3 separate regions of the Homo sapiens genome follow, and all the other regions are linked to region 1. The links are contacts of gene promoters, found by promoter capture Hi-C in human tissues and cell types (Jung and others, 2019). All regions are on one chromosome and are shown on one strand. The core of a region is centred on a gene start or on the middle of the fragment in contact, and the rest is flanking DNA. Distances in the headings are between cores, read along the strand shown.

Evidence for each region. Contacts are between HindIII fragments. The study calls those that stand out against the background at their distance.
Region 2: a fragment that was not itself captured here is called in contact with the fragment with the promoter of TUBB3 in region 1 in 3 of the 25 tissues and cell types used here (lymphoblastoid cells, small bowel and spleen).
Region 3: a fragment that was not itself captured here is called in contact with the fragment with the promoter of TUBB3 in region 1 in 1 of the 25 tissues and cell types used here (dorsolateral prefrontal cortex).

The regions. Positions count from the first base shown.
Region 1 is chr16:89,920,210-89,924,591 of GRCh38, forward strand. TUBB3 (tubulin beta 3 class III) reads left to right here and starts at 3,133. Exons shown (of 4, transcript NM_006086.4): 1 at 3,133-3,249. The coding sequence starts at 3,193. MC1R (melanocortin 1 receptor) reads left to right here. Exons shown (of 1, transcript NM_002386.4): 1 at 1-763. The coding sequence ends at 3. RefSeq lists enhancers at 1-75, 76-959, 1,846-2,729, 2,652-2,946 and silencers at 2,800-2,889, 2,910-3,059, 3,140-3,389. The HindIII fragment of the contact is 8,728 bases long and covers 1-3,979 here.
Region 2 is chr16:89,682,702-89,686,159 of GRCh38, forward strand. It overlaps LINC02166 (long intergenic non-protein coding RNA 2166), which reads right to left. Exons shown (of 3, transcript NR_184152.1): 2 at 2,109-2,974; 3 at 1-475. Among named protein-coding and RNA genes, the nearest start is that of CDK10, 2.3 kb to the right of the region's middle. The HindIII fragment of the contact is 5,110 bases long and covers 1-3,458 here.
Region 3 is chr16:89,750,394-89,755,147 of GRCh38, forward strand. It overlaps FANCA (FA complementation group A), which reads right to left. Exons shown (of 43, transcript NM_000135.4): 31 at 1,745-1,829. Among named protein-coding and RNA genes, the nearest start is that of ZNF276, 31 kb to the left of the region's middle. The HindIII fragment of the contact is 5,421 bases long and covers 795-4,754 here.

The DNA.
Region 1 (4,382 bases), core at 1,883-4,382:
TGAGCGCGGTGCACGCGGCTTTAAGTGTGCTGGGCAGAGGGAGGTGGTGATATTGTGTGGTCTGGTTCCTGTGTGACCCTGGGCAGTTCCTTACCTCCCTGGTCCCCGTTTGTCAAAGAGGATGGACTAAATGATCTCTGAAAGTGTTGAAGCGCGGACCCTTCTGGGTCCAGGGAGGGGTCCCTGCAAAACTCCAGGCAGGACTTCTCACCAGCAGTCGTGGGGAACGGAGGAGGACATGGGGAGGTTGTGGGGCCTCAGGCTCCGGGCACCAGGGGCCAACCTCAGGCTCCTAAAGAGACATTTTCCGCCCACTCCTGGGACACTCCGTCTGCTCCAATGACTGAGCAGCATCCACCCCACCCCATCTTTGCTGCCAGCTCTCAGGACCGTGCCCTCGTCAGCTGGGATGTGAAGTCTCTGGGTGGAAGTGTGTGCCAAGAGCTACTCCCACAGCAGCCCCAGGAGAAGGGGCTTTGTGACCAGAAAGCTTCATCCACAGCCTTGCAGCGGCTCCTGCAAAAGGAGGTGAAATCCCTGCCTCAGGCCAAGGGACCAGGTTTGCAGGAGCCCCCCTAGTGGTATGGGGCTGAGCCCTCCTGAGGGCCGGTTCTAAGGCTCAGACTGGGCACTGGGGCCTCAGCCTGCTTTCCTGCAGCAGTCGCCCAAGCAGACAGCCCTGGCAAATGCCTGACTCAGTGACCAGTGCCTGTGAGCATGGGGCCAGGAAAGTCTGGTAATAAATGTGACTCAGCATCACCCACCTTAGCCCCTTCCAGAAAGTGCTTGAAGTTTGCGGGTGGAGGGATGGGGGAGGGGAAGGTGGGCAGGGGTGAGAGTCGAGAGGGAAGAAAGGAGTCCCGGAAAACGTGGCTGCCTCCCCAGGTGAGGAAGCCACAGCCCCAGAGGCCCCAAATGCCTGGGGAGTGTGGAGGTCCCAACCAGGCTTGCGCTGACCCTGCTTCTCGGTTTTCTCTCCGTGCTGACAAACCCCAGCCTAGAGGAAGGACGAGCAGGTGCAGCAGGGCCCCAGTCCCCTCCACTCTTGACGCTGTCCTAGCTGCAGAAGAGGCGGGTTCCCAGCCTTCCCTGTGACCACATGTGACCTCAGCCGGGACACATCCCTTTGCTGGCCCTGGCCCTGAGTCCCTCCAGCCATGATGAGCCGTGAATGGGACCATCCCTGTCCACTCTGAGATGCCTGGAAGGGGGCTCAGTGCAGGTGGGCTGGGGGCTGGGTCTGCTGTCTGCCCAGCACTGCCATTCTGGGAGTAGGCAGGTGGGGAAGGGGTCGGGGGTGGAGGGTCTGTGTTCAGCCAGTCCTGGGAAATGCTTGATGTGAGGCTTCTGAAGATGGCAGTGAGGCAGAGGCCCAGCCGGCGGAGAAGTCCCTGGGAGTGAGTACCTGGGGATGAACTATGCTGCCTGGTGCTGGGGAGCAGTGGCGCCCCTGGGCCATCCCTCTGCTGAAACCTGGGCGTCTCGCTGAAGAGACCACCTCCATTTCCTCTGCAGAGACTGAGCACTCAGTCAGCCCCCTTCCTGGGACAGGCTCAATGGAGGCTGCAGGGCCATCAGCCGACTCCTACGCAGGCTCAGTCAGCAGCCCCCTGGCCAGCCCCACCCCTGACTGCCGGCCTCAGAACTGGGAGCTGCTTCCTGGCAGGGCCCGCCTCTGCTGGGAGACCGGACGGTGAGTCAGCCTTAAGCCCGGCACCAGACCCCTCTGAGGATGGAGCAGGAGCTGGCTGCCCTGAGGCTGCAAAACTTCTTCCCTCGTGGAGACAGGGAGGCACCTCAGACACTCACCCCGGACTCCCTTGAACAGGGACAGGGAGGAACCCCAGGCAGCTAGACCCCAGCAGCAGCCACACGAGCACACTGTGGGGCAGGGAGGGGCATCTCTTGAGAACAAAAGATCCATTTCTCGACTTTCCAAACTGGAGAGCTTCTTGAGAGAAAAGAGAGAGACAGGTACAGGTCCACGCCACCCACACACAGCCCTGTGCACACAGACCGGACACAGGCGTCCACAGGCAAGTTCGCAGCTGCTCATTTTGTGAAGTGAATGCTGATTTGGGGGCCGGGTGGGGTTCGTCTGTACATCGTGCACTGTCAGACCCTTCCTGAAGGATTTTTGTTACTGAAGTATCAGAAGGCCCTTGTTCTAAGGTGGTGGCACTGTAATATCTGGCCCAGGAGGAGGTCAGTGCCGTGCCGGCGAGTCCTTTGCTCCCTTCCTTCTCTGACCAGTAAACGCATCTCCAGTCGCTCCCCCGAGGCCCCCCTGCACGCAGTCTCCGACCTCAGAGAGTGAGTCAGATAGAAGCCGCTGCCCACCCTCCCCCACCCTGGCCGGGTTCTTGCCTGGCTTGTGCGTCCTTGTGACAATTCCTGACACGGATGCGCACCGGGCAGTGGCACGTCCAGGTGCTGTGCGCGCCCGGGCCCACAAAGCTCCTTTGGACGCTCATGGCAGCCCCTTGGTGGAGGAGGTCGGGTGCCCACCCCCTCCCCGCCCACTGCGGAAGCCGGCGACCCACGGAGCTCGCTCTCGGCCGCCGCCACCCCTCTGTGTTCGCGCCCTTCCGAGCTCTGATCCGACGCTTTGTTTCTTCTCAGTGGGTTCAGGGCCTGGGCCAGCCTTTACCTACCTCCCCCACCCAAAACCGGCAAAAGCTCAGAGCACCTTGTCTGCCAAAAGACAGGGAGCTGGGATGGTGCGGGTTGGTCTCTAAACCGGCGTGGGGAAAAAAGACCCTCCGTACAAAGCCGCAGGGTGGGGCTGTCGCAAGGGCGGAACCGAGAGGGTAGCTGGGGGCGGGGTTCCCAGGGCCAAGAGGGGCCATTGTCCTCCCTGGAGCCCGGCGCCCCCACAGCCAGCTCCTCTGGGAGACAGCCCCTCCTTTCGAATGCGCGGGGCCCTCAGACCGCGCCCGGCCCAGCGCTGGGGGATCCTTGGCTGCGGGAGGGGCGCCGCATTGCGCGCGGCGGGCGGGGACGCGCGGTGCGGAGCCTGCGGGCCGGGCGGGGCTCTGCGGCGGCGCCTCCCGATTGGCCACCCGCGGTGACATCAGCCGATGCGAAGGGCGGGGCCGCGGCTATAAGAGCGCGCGGCCGCGGTCCCCGACCCTCAGCAGCCAGCCCGGCCCGCCCGCGCCCGTCCGCAGCCGCCCGCCAGACGCGCCCAGTATGAGGGAGATCGTGCACATCCAGGCCGGCCAGTGCGGCAACCAGATCGGGGCCAAGGTGAGGCTGCGCGCCCCGGCCTGTCCCGGGCCCCGGGGCGGGAGGAGGGAGGCGCCGTGCCCCGCGGGCCGCACCTCCAGCTGCCCCCGCCCCTGCGAACCTGCAACAAAGGGATGCGCCCAGCGCCGCGCCGGGCGGCCGGGACGCGGGGCCCCCGCCCTGGGACTCTCGCCTGCACCTCTCTGCCCCTGCCCAGGTGACCTCGGGCTGTCGAGGCGCAGCTCACGTCAGTCGCGAAGCCTCAGCCCCCTCCACACCTGCGCCCCCTCCACACCTGCACCCCCTCCACCGGGCCTCCGCAGGTGCAGCTGGGAGCCCTGTCTGGGCGTGGCCCTCTTTTTTGGGGCCGCGGCATAGCCTTGAGTGAGACGGGTGGGGTAGGCAGGTTTGGGTGGGGTGGGGGGTTCTCCTCACAGCCGTGATTTCCTCGGCCCGAACCCCCCACTGGAGTAGCCGAACGTCCCCCGAGAGGCTAGAGCCGCCCCGATTTCCCCAGCCTGCTCCGACACCCCTCGGCGTCCTAGCTCCACCCTGTCCCTTTGTTGGAGGGGTTGGGCCTGGACTCGAGATGACCTTGGTCCAGGACCAGGCTCTCCATCGGCGCAGCCGCTCCTGGGCAACCCCCGCGGGGCTTGACCGCGCCCACCCAGGGTCTACCAGTCTGGGGATTGGATGTGGGAACAAAGCCGGGCTGTGGGGTGTGGAGGCTGCACCGTGGCGCGCCCCTCCCTCCATTGTTAGCCCACCTCGCAGATGTTGGGGCCACGCAGAAAGGGGCGTTGGTGCAGCTGTGCAGGGACCCCTGCCTAAATCATTAAGGGGACGTCGTGTCCCCTGGTCCTGGGAGGCTGTCCCTGGCCCAAGGTCACACAGCAGGTGCGAGAGAGCTGGGCTGGCCCTTGGTTCTCATCCCCTGCAGGAGCCAACCTGGGGCTCGGGCGGGGCGGGTTGGGGGCGCTGCTTGCCAAAGGATCTGCCCTCCGAACAGTGTTGGGGAACAGGGGATCGGGGGGGGAGGCTGGCTTTGTCAGGACCAAGGCCAGGGACCCAGCTCAGGGCTGGTGCAGCGCTGATTCTGGGAAGGAGGGGGTGCAGGAGACGGTCCTGGAGGGGAAGGGGCCAGAGAAAGGCAG
Region 2 (3,458 bases), core at 696-3,195, 240 kb before region 1:
TGAGACAGGATCCTCCCGTGTGCTGAACCGCTTCTGGGTGGGGCTGCAGGAGTAGTTGGCAGGTCCAGGTGGAGCCATCATCAGTCAGTGGGTCCTGTTGGAGCCGTAGGTATCAGACATGCAAAAAACCCTTGCGAGGTACTGCAAAAGGCCAATCTTAGGTTACAATAGCATTGTTATCTGCAGGACCTCTGGAATAATGGCTGATAATTGTTTATGTCTACATCTTAGCCAAATTCAGGCTCCTCTCCTCTCCCTAGCCTGGTGGCCCCTCATTAGTTTTACAAATACAGTTGAGTTTTGGGGAGGGGCTATTATCATGTAAACTATAAACATCTCCCAAAGCTAGCCCAAGAATAACTGAAGGCAGCTTGAAGGCTAAAGGTCAAAGGGGGTTTGGCTACATCAGATCTTCCCCAATTGGCATAATTTTCTCAATGATACAATTTTTGTGGCCGGGCTCGGTGGCTCACGCCTGTAATCCCAGCACTTTGGGAGGCCAAGGCGGGCAGATCACGAAGTCAGGAGATTGCAACCATCCTTGTCAACACAGTGAAACCCCGTCTCTACTAAAAATACACAAAAAATTAGCCGGGCGTGGTGGCGGGCGTCTGTAGTCCCAGCTACTTGGGAGGTTAAGGCAGGAGAATGGCGTGAACCTGGGAGGCGGAGCTTGCAGTGAGCCGAGGTCGCACCACTGCACTCCAGCCTGGGCGACAGAGCAAGACTCCGTCTCAAAAAAAAAAAAAAAAAAAAAAGCCTACATGGTAAATATTTATTCTTGCTACAGTTTATACAAATAACCAGGCCAAGTACAATAAGACTAAAACTTATTTTGAAAACAAATCAGTACTACCTGATTTCACTTTGGTAAAAATAGGAGACTAGAGAGAGAAAAATTATGTTTCAAAATAAACTATAGTATACCTGTTATTAGATTCTAGCCTTGCCTAAGGTTTTTCAACTTTTATTATTTTCTCTTTTTTTGTTTGTTTATTTGTTTTTTCAGACAGGGTCTCACTCTGTCACCCGGGCAGTGGTGTGGTATCAGTTCACTGCAACCTCTGCCTCCTGGGTTCAAGTGATTCTCGTGCCTCAGCCTCCCGAGTAGCTGGGATTATTGGTGTGCACCACTATGGCCAGCTCATTTTTTTGTATTTTTAGTAGAGATGCGTTTCACCATGTTGGCCAGGCTAGTCTCGAACTCCTGACCTCATGATCCACCGGCCTCGGCCTCCCAAAGTGCTGGGATTATAGGCATGAGCCACTGCGCCGGGCCAAAGCCGTGCTTTTCTTAAAGCTCTGCGAACGAAAGCTAGACAACTTAAACCTCAGAAGAGAATAATGGTACCTATTTATATACATAAACCACTTTCACGCCTGCCTGCTGTGTATGGACTTCAGAGGAACACAGCCTACGTCAGTTTTCTAGGATTGTTCTCTCCACGTGCTCTTTGTTTTCTTTCTTTCTTCTTCCCTCTATTTTCCTCCCTCCCTCCCTTCCTTCCTTCCTTTCACAAAGTCTCACTCTGTTACCCAGGCTGGAGTGCAGTGGCACGATTTTGGCTCACTGCAACCTCCGCCTTCCGGGTTCAAGCGATTCTCCTGCCTCAGCCTCCCGAGTACCTGGGACTACAGGCAACCACCACCACACCCAGCTAATTTTGTTAGTTTTAGTAGAGACGGGGTTTCACCATGTTGGCCAGGCTGGTCTCGAACTCCTGACCTCAAGTGATCTGCCTACCTCGGCCTCCCAAAGTGTTGGGATTATAGGCATGAGCCACTGTGCCTGGTCACAACACCTGCATTTTCTTTTTTTTTTGTTTTTTTTTTTGAGACAGAGTCTCACTCTGTCACCCAGGCTGGAGTGTAGTGGTGTGATCTTGGCTCACTGCAAGCTCCGCCCCGTGGGTTCACACCATTCTCCTGCCTCAGCCTCCCGAGTAGCTGCAACTACAGGCACCCGCCACCATGCCTGCCTAATTTTTTGTATTTTTTAGTGGAGATGGGGTTTCACTGTGTTAGCCAGGATGGTCTCTATCTCCTGACCTCGTGATCGACCCGCCTCAGACTCCCAAAGTGCTGGGATTACAGGCATGAGCCACCACGCCTGGCCAACACCCCCATTTTGTATACCACACTCAACTCCCCCATTTTCTACATGCTGATCAAAACCAATCTGAATGGAGTCTAGGTCTGGCTGTGGGCTGTTGGGAAGAGGCCCCCAAATCTGGCCATCAACTGGCCGCAAAACTGGCCATAAACAAAATCTCTGCTGCACTGTGACATGCTCATGATGGCCATGACTCCCACACTGGAATGAGGGCAAGGAACACCTGGCCCACCCAGGGCGGAAAACCGCTTAAAGGAGTTCCTGAACCACAAACAATAGCATGAGCGATCTGTGCCTTAAGGACGTGCTCCTGCTGCAGATAACTAGCCAGACCCATCCCTTTATTTCCCGTAAGAAGTGCTTTTAATCTATAATCTATAGAAACAATGCTTATCACTGGCTTGCTGTCAATAAATATGTGGGTAAATCTCTGTTCGAGGCTTTCAGCTTCGAAGGCTGTGAGACCCCTGATTTCCCACTCCACACCCTATATTTCTGTGTGTGTTTCTTTAATTCCTCTAGCGCCGCTGGGTTAGGGTCTCCACGACCGAGCTGGTCCCGCAGTGGGCAGTGGTTTGGGCCCGACCGAGCTGGTCCCGCAGTGGGCGGTGGTTTGGGCCCGACCGAGCTGGTCCCGCAGTGGGCGGTGGTTTGGGCCCGACCGAGCTGGTCTCGCAGTGGGCGGTGGTTTGGGCCCGACCGAGCTGGTCTCGCAGTGGTTTGGGCCCTGCTTGCTCGACTGGATTTCAACAGTGAAGCCAGATTAGAGGACATGCTGGCTGCCCCGATCCTGGACCTGGACCAATGGTGCTTCCTAAACATTCCATGTCAACTTTTCTTTTTCCACCTTCCAGGGCTGGGCTGTGAAAGAGATTGGAGAGGCAGGTGCCTGTGAGAGAAGCTTCTACCAGCCTGGGAAGTCAGGTCTTCCATGAGTGAGGGGAGGTATCTACTTTGCCAAACCTTGTTAGGGAATGCTGACATAGCTGCCTCTTCCTGCCCAGAAGCTAAGCTTGAATGCCACCCCTCACAGAGCTTCTCTCCTGTCTTTCACTCACTCCTGCTTATTTCTGTGACAGAACTTGACAGCATGGACATTGCCACTTGCTTCCTTCAGTCTCCTGGAGTCCCCATGTCCTGAACACAGAGGAGGCACCCAAATGCTTGCTGAAGCCACATCCCTGGACCAAGTGACCTGACCCTCACCTGGAGGACCTTCACCTTCACCTCTCACCTGGAGGACCCTCTCACCTGGAAGACTCTCTCACCTGGAGGACCACCCCACCTGAAGGACTCCCAACTGGAGGACCCTCTTACCTGGGGGACCCCCTCCGCTGGAGGACCC
Region 3 (4,754 bases), core at 2,255-4,754, 170 kb before region 1:
AATGGCGTGAACCCGGGAGGTGGAGCTTGCAGTGAGCCCAGATCGCACCACTGCACTTCAGACTGGGCAACAGAGTGAGACTCCGTCTCAAAAAAAAACAAACAAAAAAAAACAGCCAGGTATGGTGGCTCACGCCTGTAATCCCAGAACTTTGGGAGGCCAAGACAGATGGATTACCTGAGGTCAGGAGTCCAAGACCAGCCTGGCCAACAAAATTAGCCATACAAAAATTAGCTGGGTGTGGTGGCAGGCGCCTGTAATCCCAGCTAATCAGGAGGCAGAGGCAGGAGAATAGTTTGAACCCGGGAGGTAGAGGCTGCAGTGAGCCAAGATCCCGCCACTGCACTCCAGAGCAAGACTCTGTCTCAAAAACAAACAGACAAAACAAAACAAAACAACAACAAAAAAAAACAGCAGGAGGACACTCATGTGCCCTTCACCCAGATTAACCTCTGGCTAACATTTTACCCCACACATCATTTTTGCCTCACAAGTCTTTTGTTGTTGTTGTTGTTGTTAGGACAGTCTCAGTCCGGTTGCCCAGGCTGGAGTGCGGCAGTGCAGTCTTGGCTTATGGCAGCCTTGACTCTCGAGCTCAGCTGATTCTCCTAAGTCAGCTTCCTGAGTAGCTGGGACTATAGGTACACACCACCATGCTTGACTAGTGTTTTGTATTTTTAGTAGAGATGGGGTTTCACCATGTTGGCCAAACTGGTCTTGAGCCCCTGACCTCAAGTGATCTAGCCACCTCAGCCTCCCAAAGTGCTGGGATTACAGGCATAAGCCACCGTGCCTGGCCGGCTGTATTTTTTAAAGAAGAATAAAGATCAGGTGCAGTGGCTCACGCCTGTAATCCAACAATTTTGGAGACCGAGATGGGTGGTTCACTTGGGCCCAGGAGTTCGAGACAAGCCTGGGCAACATGGCAAAACTCCGTCTCTACAAAAAATCAGCTGGGTGTGGTGGCGCACACAGGTGCACGCTGTCAGGATTGCTTGAGCCCAGGAAGTCAAGGCTGCAGAGAGATATGATCGCACCACTGTACTCTAGCCTGGGTGACAGAGCAAGACCCTGTCCCAATAATAATAATAATTATGATTACAATTAAGAGGAAAAAGCAGATGGTCTCACTGAGAAGGAGCCAGGTGGGTCTAGGGAAAGCATCTGGCTAAGGAGTTGGGAGGCCCCAGAGCTGGCGGAGGGAGAGACAGGGGCCTGGCACAGAAGACGCACGGGTGGCCAGCACCAGTAAATGCCTGTTGACTGACAGTGAACCCACACAGGTACATGCTGCCTACCTGTATAGACTTCAGGTGATCCACCAGCCTCGGACTCCCAAAGTACTGGGATTACAAGCCTGAGCCAACAATAAATATCTTTTTTTTTTTTTTGAGACGGAGTCTCACTCTGTCGCCCGCCCAGGCTGGAGTGCAGTGGCACAATCTCGGCTCACTGCAAGCTCCGCCTCCTGGGTTCATGCCATTCTCCTGCCTCAGCCTCCCGAGTAGGTGGGGCTACAGGTGCCCGCCACCACGCCCGGCTAAATTTTTGTATTTTTAGTAGAGACGGGGTCTCATCGTGTTAGCCAGCATGGTCTCGATCTCCTGACTGTGTGATCCGCCTGCCTCGGCCTCCCAAAGTTCTGGGATTACAGGCGTGAGCCACCGCGCCTGGCAATAAATATCTTAATAGCACGCGGCTTAAATGAAGTGAATGCACTGAGTTGTGGCACCCTCAAACTCACCTGCAATCTGGAAATAATATCCTCATTTCCTGTGCGGCCACCAAAGACCAAATCAGAATTTTCTGAGTGGTCATAACTCCTTGAGCTGAAATGAAAATACAATAAAATCCTCCTCAGTATCGCCTAATAGTGCTGAAGTTCCCAGTTCTCCTCCTGCCTCCGGAGCTGAGTGATGGCTGTGCTTCTCTGACAGTGTGACCCTCACATTAGTCAACAATAAACAACAAAAACTGCCACAAAATACTACCAACCCCAACCTAGGAAATACAAAAATTATGTACCATGACCAAGGAGGCTTATCCCAAGAATGCAAGGATGTGGGTGGCAAGCCACCCAGGCACCAAGGCAAGAGACAGAGGACACGAGCTGTTCCAGTATAATAAAATATAAAACAAGAATAGTTATACCAGATATAGATCTTAGATATGATTACATATGAATATCATTAATCATTAGTTGGTAGCAATTACTTTTTATTCCAATATTATGATAATCCTCACTCAATAATCATAGCCTAGGAAAAACCAGGCCATACAGAGATAGGAGCTGAGGGGATATACTGAGGTGTGACCAGAAGACAAGAGTGCGAGCCTTCTGTTGTGCCCGGACAGGGCCACCAGAGGGCTCCTTGGTCTAGCGGTGATGCCAGCGTCTGGGAAGACGCCCGTCACCAAGCGGATCGTGGTCCAGCGGTAGCAAAAGGTGTCAAGGAACAACACCCACTACTTAGCAGACCGGGAAAGGGAGTCTCCCTTTCCCCCGGGGAGTTTAGAGAAGACTCTGCTCCTCCACCTCTTGTGGAGGGCCTGACATCAGTCAGACTCGCCCGCAGTTATCCGGAGGCCTCACCGTCTCCCTGTGATGCTGTGCTTCAGTGGTCATGCTCCTAGTCCACCTTCATGTTCCATCCTGTACACCTGGCTCTGCCTTCCAGATAGCAGTAGCAAATTAGTGAAAATACTAATAGTCCCTGATATGCAGAAATAATGGCGTAAGCTGTCTTTCTCTCTGTCTCCTCTCCCTCTCTGCCTCAGCTGCCAGGCAGGGACGGGCCCCCTGTCCAGTGGACATGTGACCCACGTGACCTTACCTATCATTGGAGGTGACTCACATTGTTTACCCTGCCCCTTCTGCCTTGTATCCAATAAGTAACAGCGCAGCCCGACACTCGGGGCCACTACCGGTCTCCGCGCATTGGTGGTAGTGGTCCCCCGGGCCCAGCTGCCTTTTCTCTTATCTCTGTCTTGTGTCTTTATTTCTACACTCTCTCATCGCCGCACACAGGGAGAGACCCACCGACCCTCCGGGGCTGGTCCCTACACAAGGATAGCTTAAGATCCCCAAACCAATATAACGCAGTTATCAATAAAATAAAAAGCAAAAACCGTAAGATTATCTCAATAGATGTAGAAAAAGCACTTGACGAAATGTGACATCCTTTTGTGATAAAAACACTCAATCAACCAGGAACAAAGGAAATCTTCTCAATCTAGTGCCTGGCATGGATGAAAACCCACAGCAAACGTCAGATTTAATGAGGAAAGACTGAAAGCTGTTCTCCTAAGATCAGGGGCAACAAGGATGTCCTCTCTACACTCAGAACAGTGTCGCTGCCTCTACTCAACACTGCACTGGGGACAGACACGGTGGCTCACGCCTGTAATCCCAGCACTTTGGGAGGCCGAGGCAGGCAGATCATCTGAGGTCAGGAGATCGAGACCATCCTGGCCAATGTGGCGAAACCCTATCTCTACTAAAAATACAAAAATTAGACGGGCGTGTTAGCGGACGCCAGTAATCCCACCTATTGGGAGGCTGAGGCAGCAGAATTGCCTGAACCTGGAAGGCGGAGGTTGCAGACAGCTGAGATAGTGCCACTGTACTCCAGCCTGGGACACACAGCGACACTCTGTCTCAAAAACAAACAAACAAAAATTAGCTGGGCATGGTGGCGGGTGCCTGTAATCCCAGCTACTCGGGAGGCTGAGGCAGGAGAATCGCTTGAACCTGAGAGGCGAAGGTTTCGGTAAGCCGAGATTGCACCACTGCACTCCAGCCTGGGTGACAGAGCGAGACTCCGTCTCAGAAAAAAAAAAACAAAACAAAACAACAACAAAAAAAACAACACTGCCCGGGGAGTTCAAGCCGGGGCAATTCAACAAGAAAAAGAAAAAGCATCCAGATAGGAAAGGAAAAAGTGAAACTATCTCTCTTCACATATTATATGATCTTTCTTTTGTTTTTTTGTTTTGAGACTGAGTTTCACTCTTGTCGCCCAGGCTGGAGTTGCAGTGGCATGATCTCAACTCACTGCAACCTCTGCCTCCTGAGTTCAAGTGATTCTTCTGCCTCAGCCTCCCAAGTAACGGATTACAGGAGCCCACCACGATGCCCGGCTAATTTTTGTATTTTTAGTAGAGATGGGGTTTCACCATGTTGGCCAGGCTGGTCTCCAACTCCTGACCTCATGATCCGCCCACTTCACCCTCCCAAAGTGCTGGGATTACAGGCATGAGCCACCATGCCTGGCCAGACACGATCTTATATATACAAAGCCCTAAGGAATCGATACAAAAACACTCTTAGAACTAATAAATGACTAGAGCCAATGAATATACAAGAATCACTGGTGTTTCTATACGTTAGCAACAAATGATTCAAAAGGAAAGAAGACTCGCTATCACTGAGATGGCAATACTGCCCCACATGCAGTCCGTATCAGGGTCCCAGCTACTTTTGTCGAAACTGACAAGCTCATCCCAAAATTAAGACACAACTACAAAGCACCTAGAAAAGCCAAACCATCCTGAAAAAGAAGAACCAAGTTGGAGGCCTCACACTTCCCAATTTTAAAACCTACTACAAAGCTTCATCCCAATGACGCAGTGCATATGGACATACAGACCAAGGGAACACAATGAGAGCCAGAAACAAACCCTCACACGAGCAGCCATCTAACTTTTGACAAGGGTGCCAAGACCATTCAGTGGGGAAAGAAGTGTTTTCAACA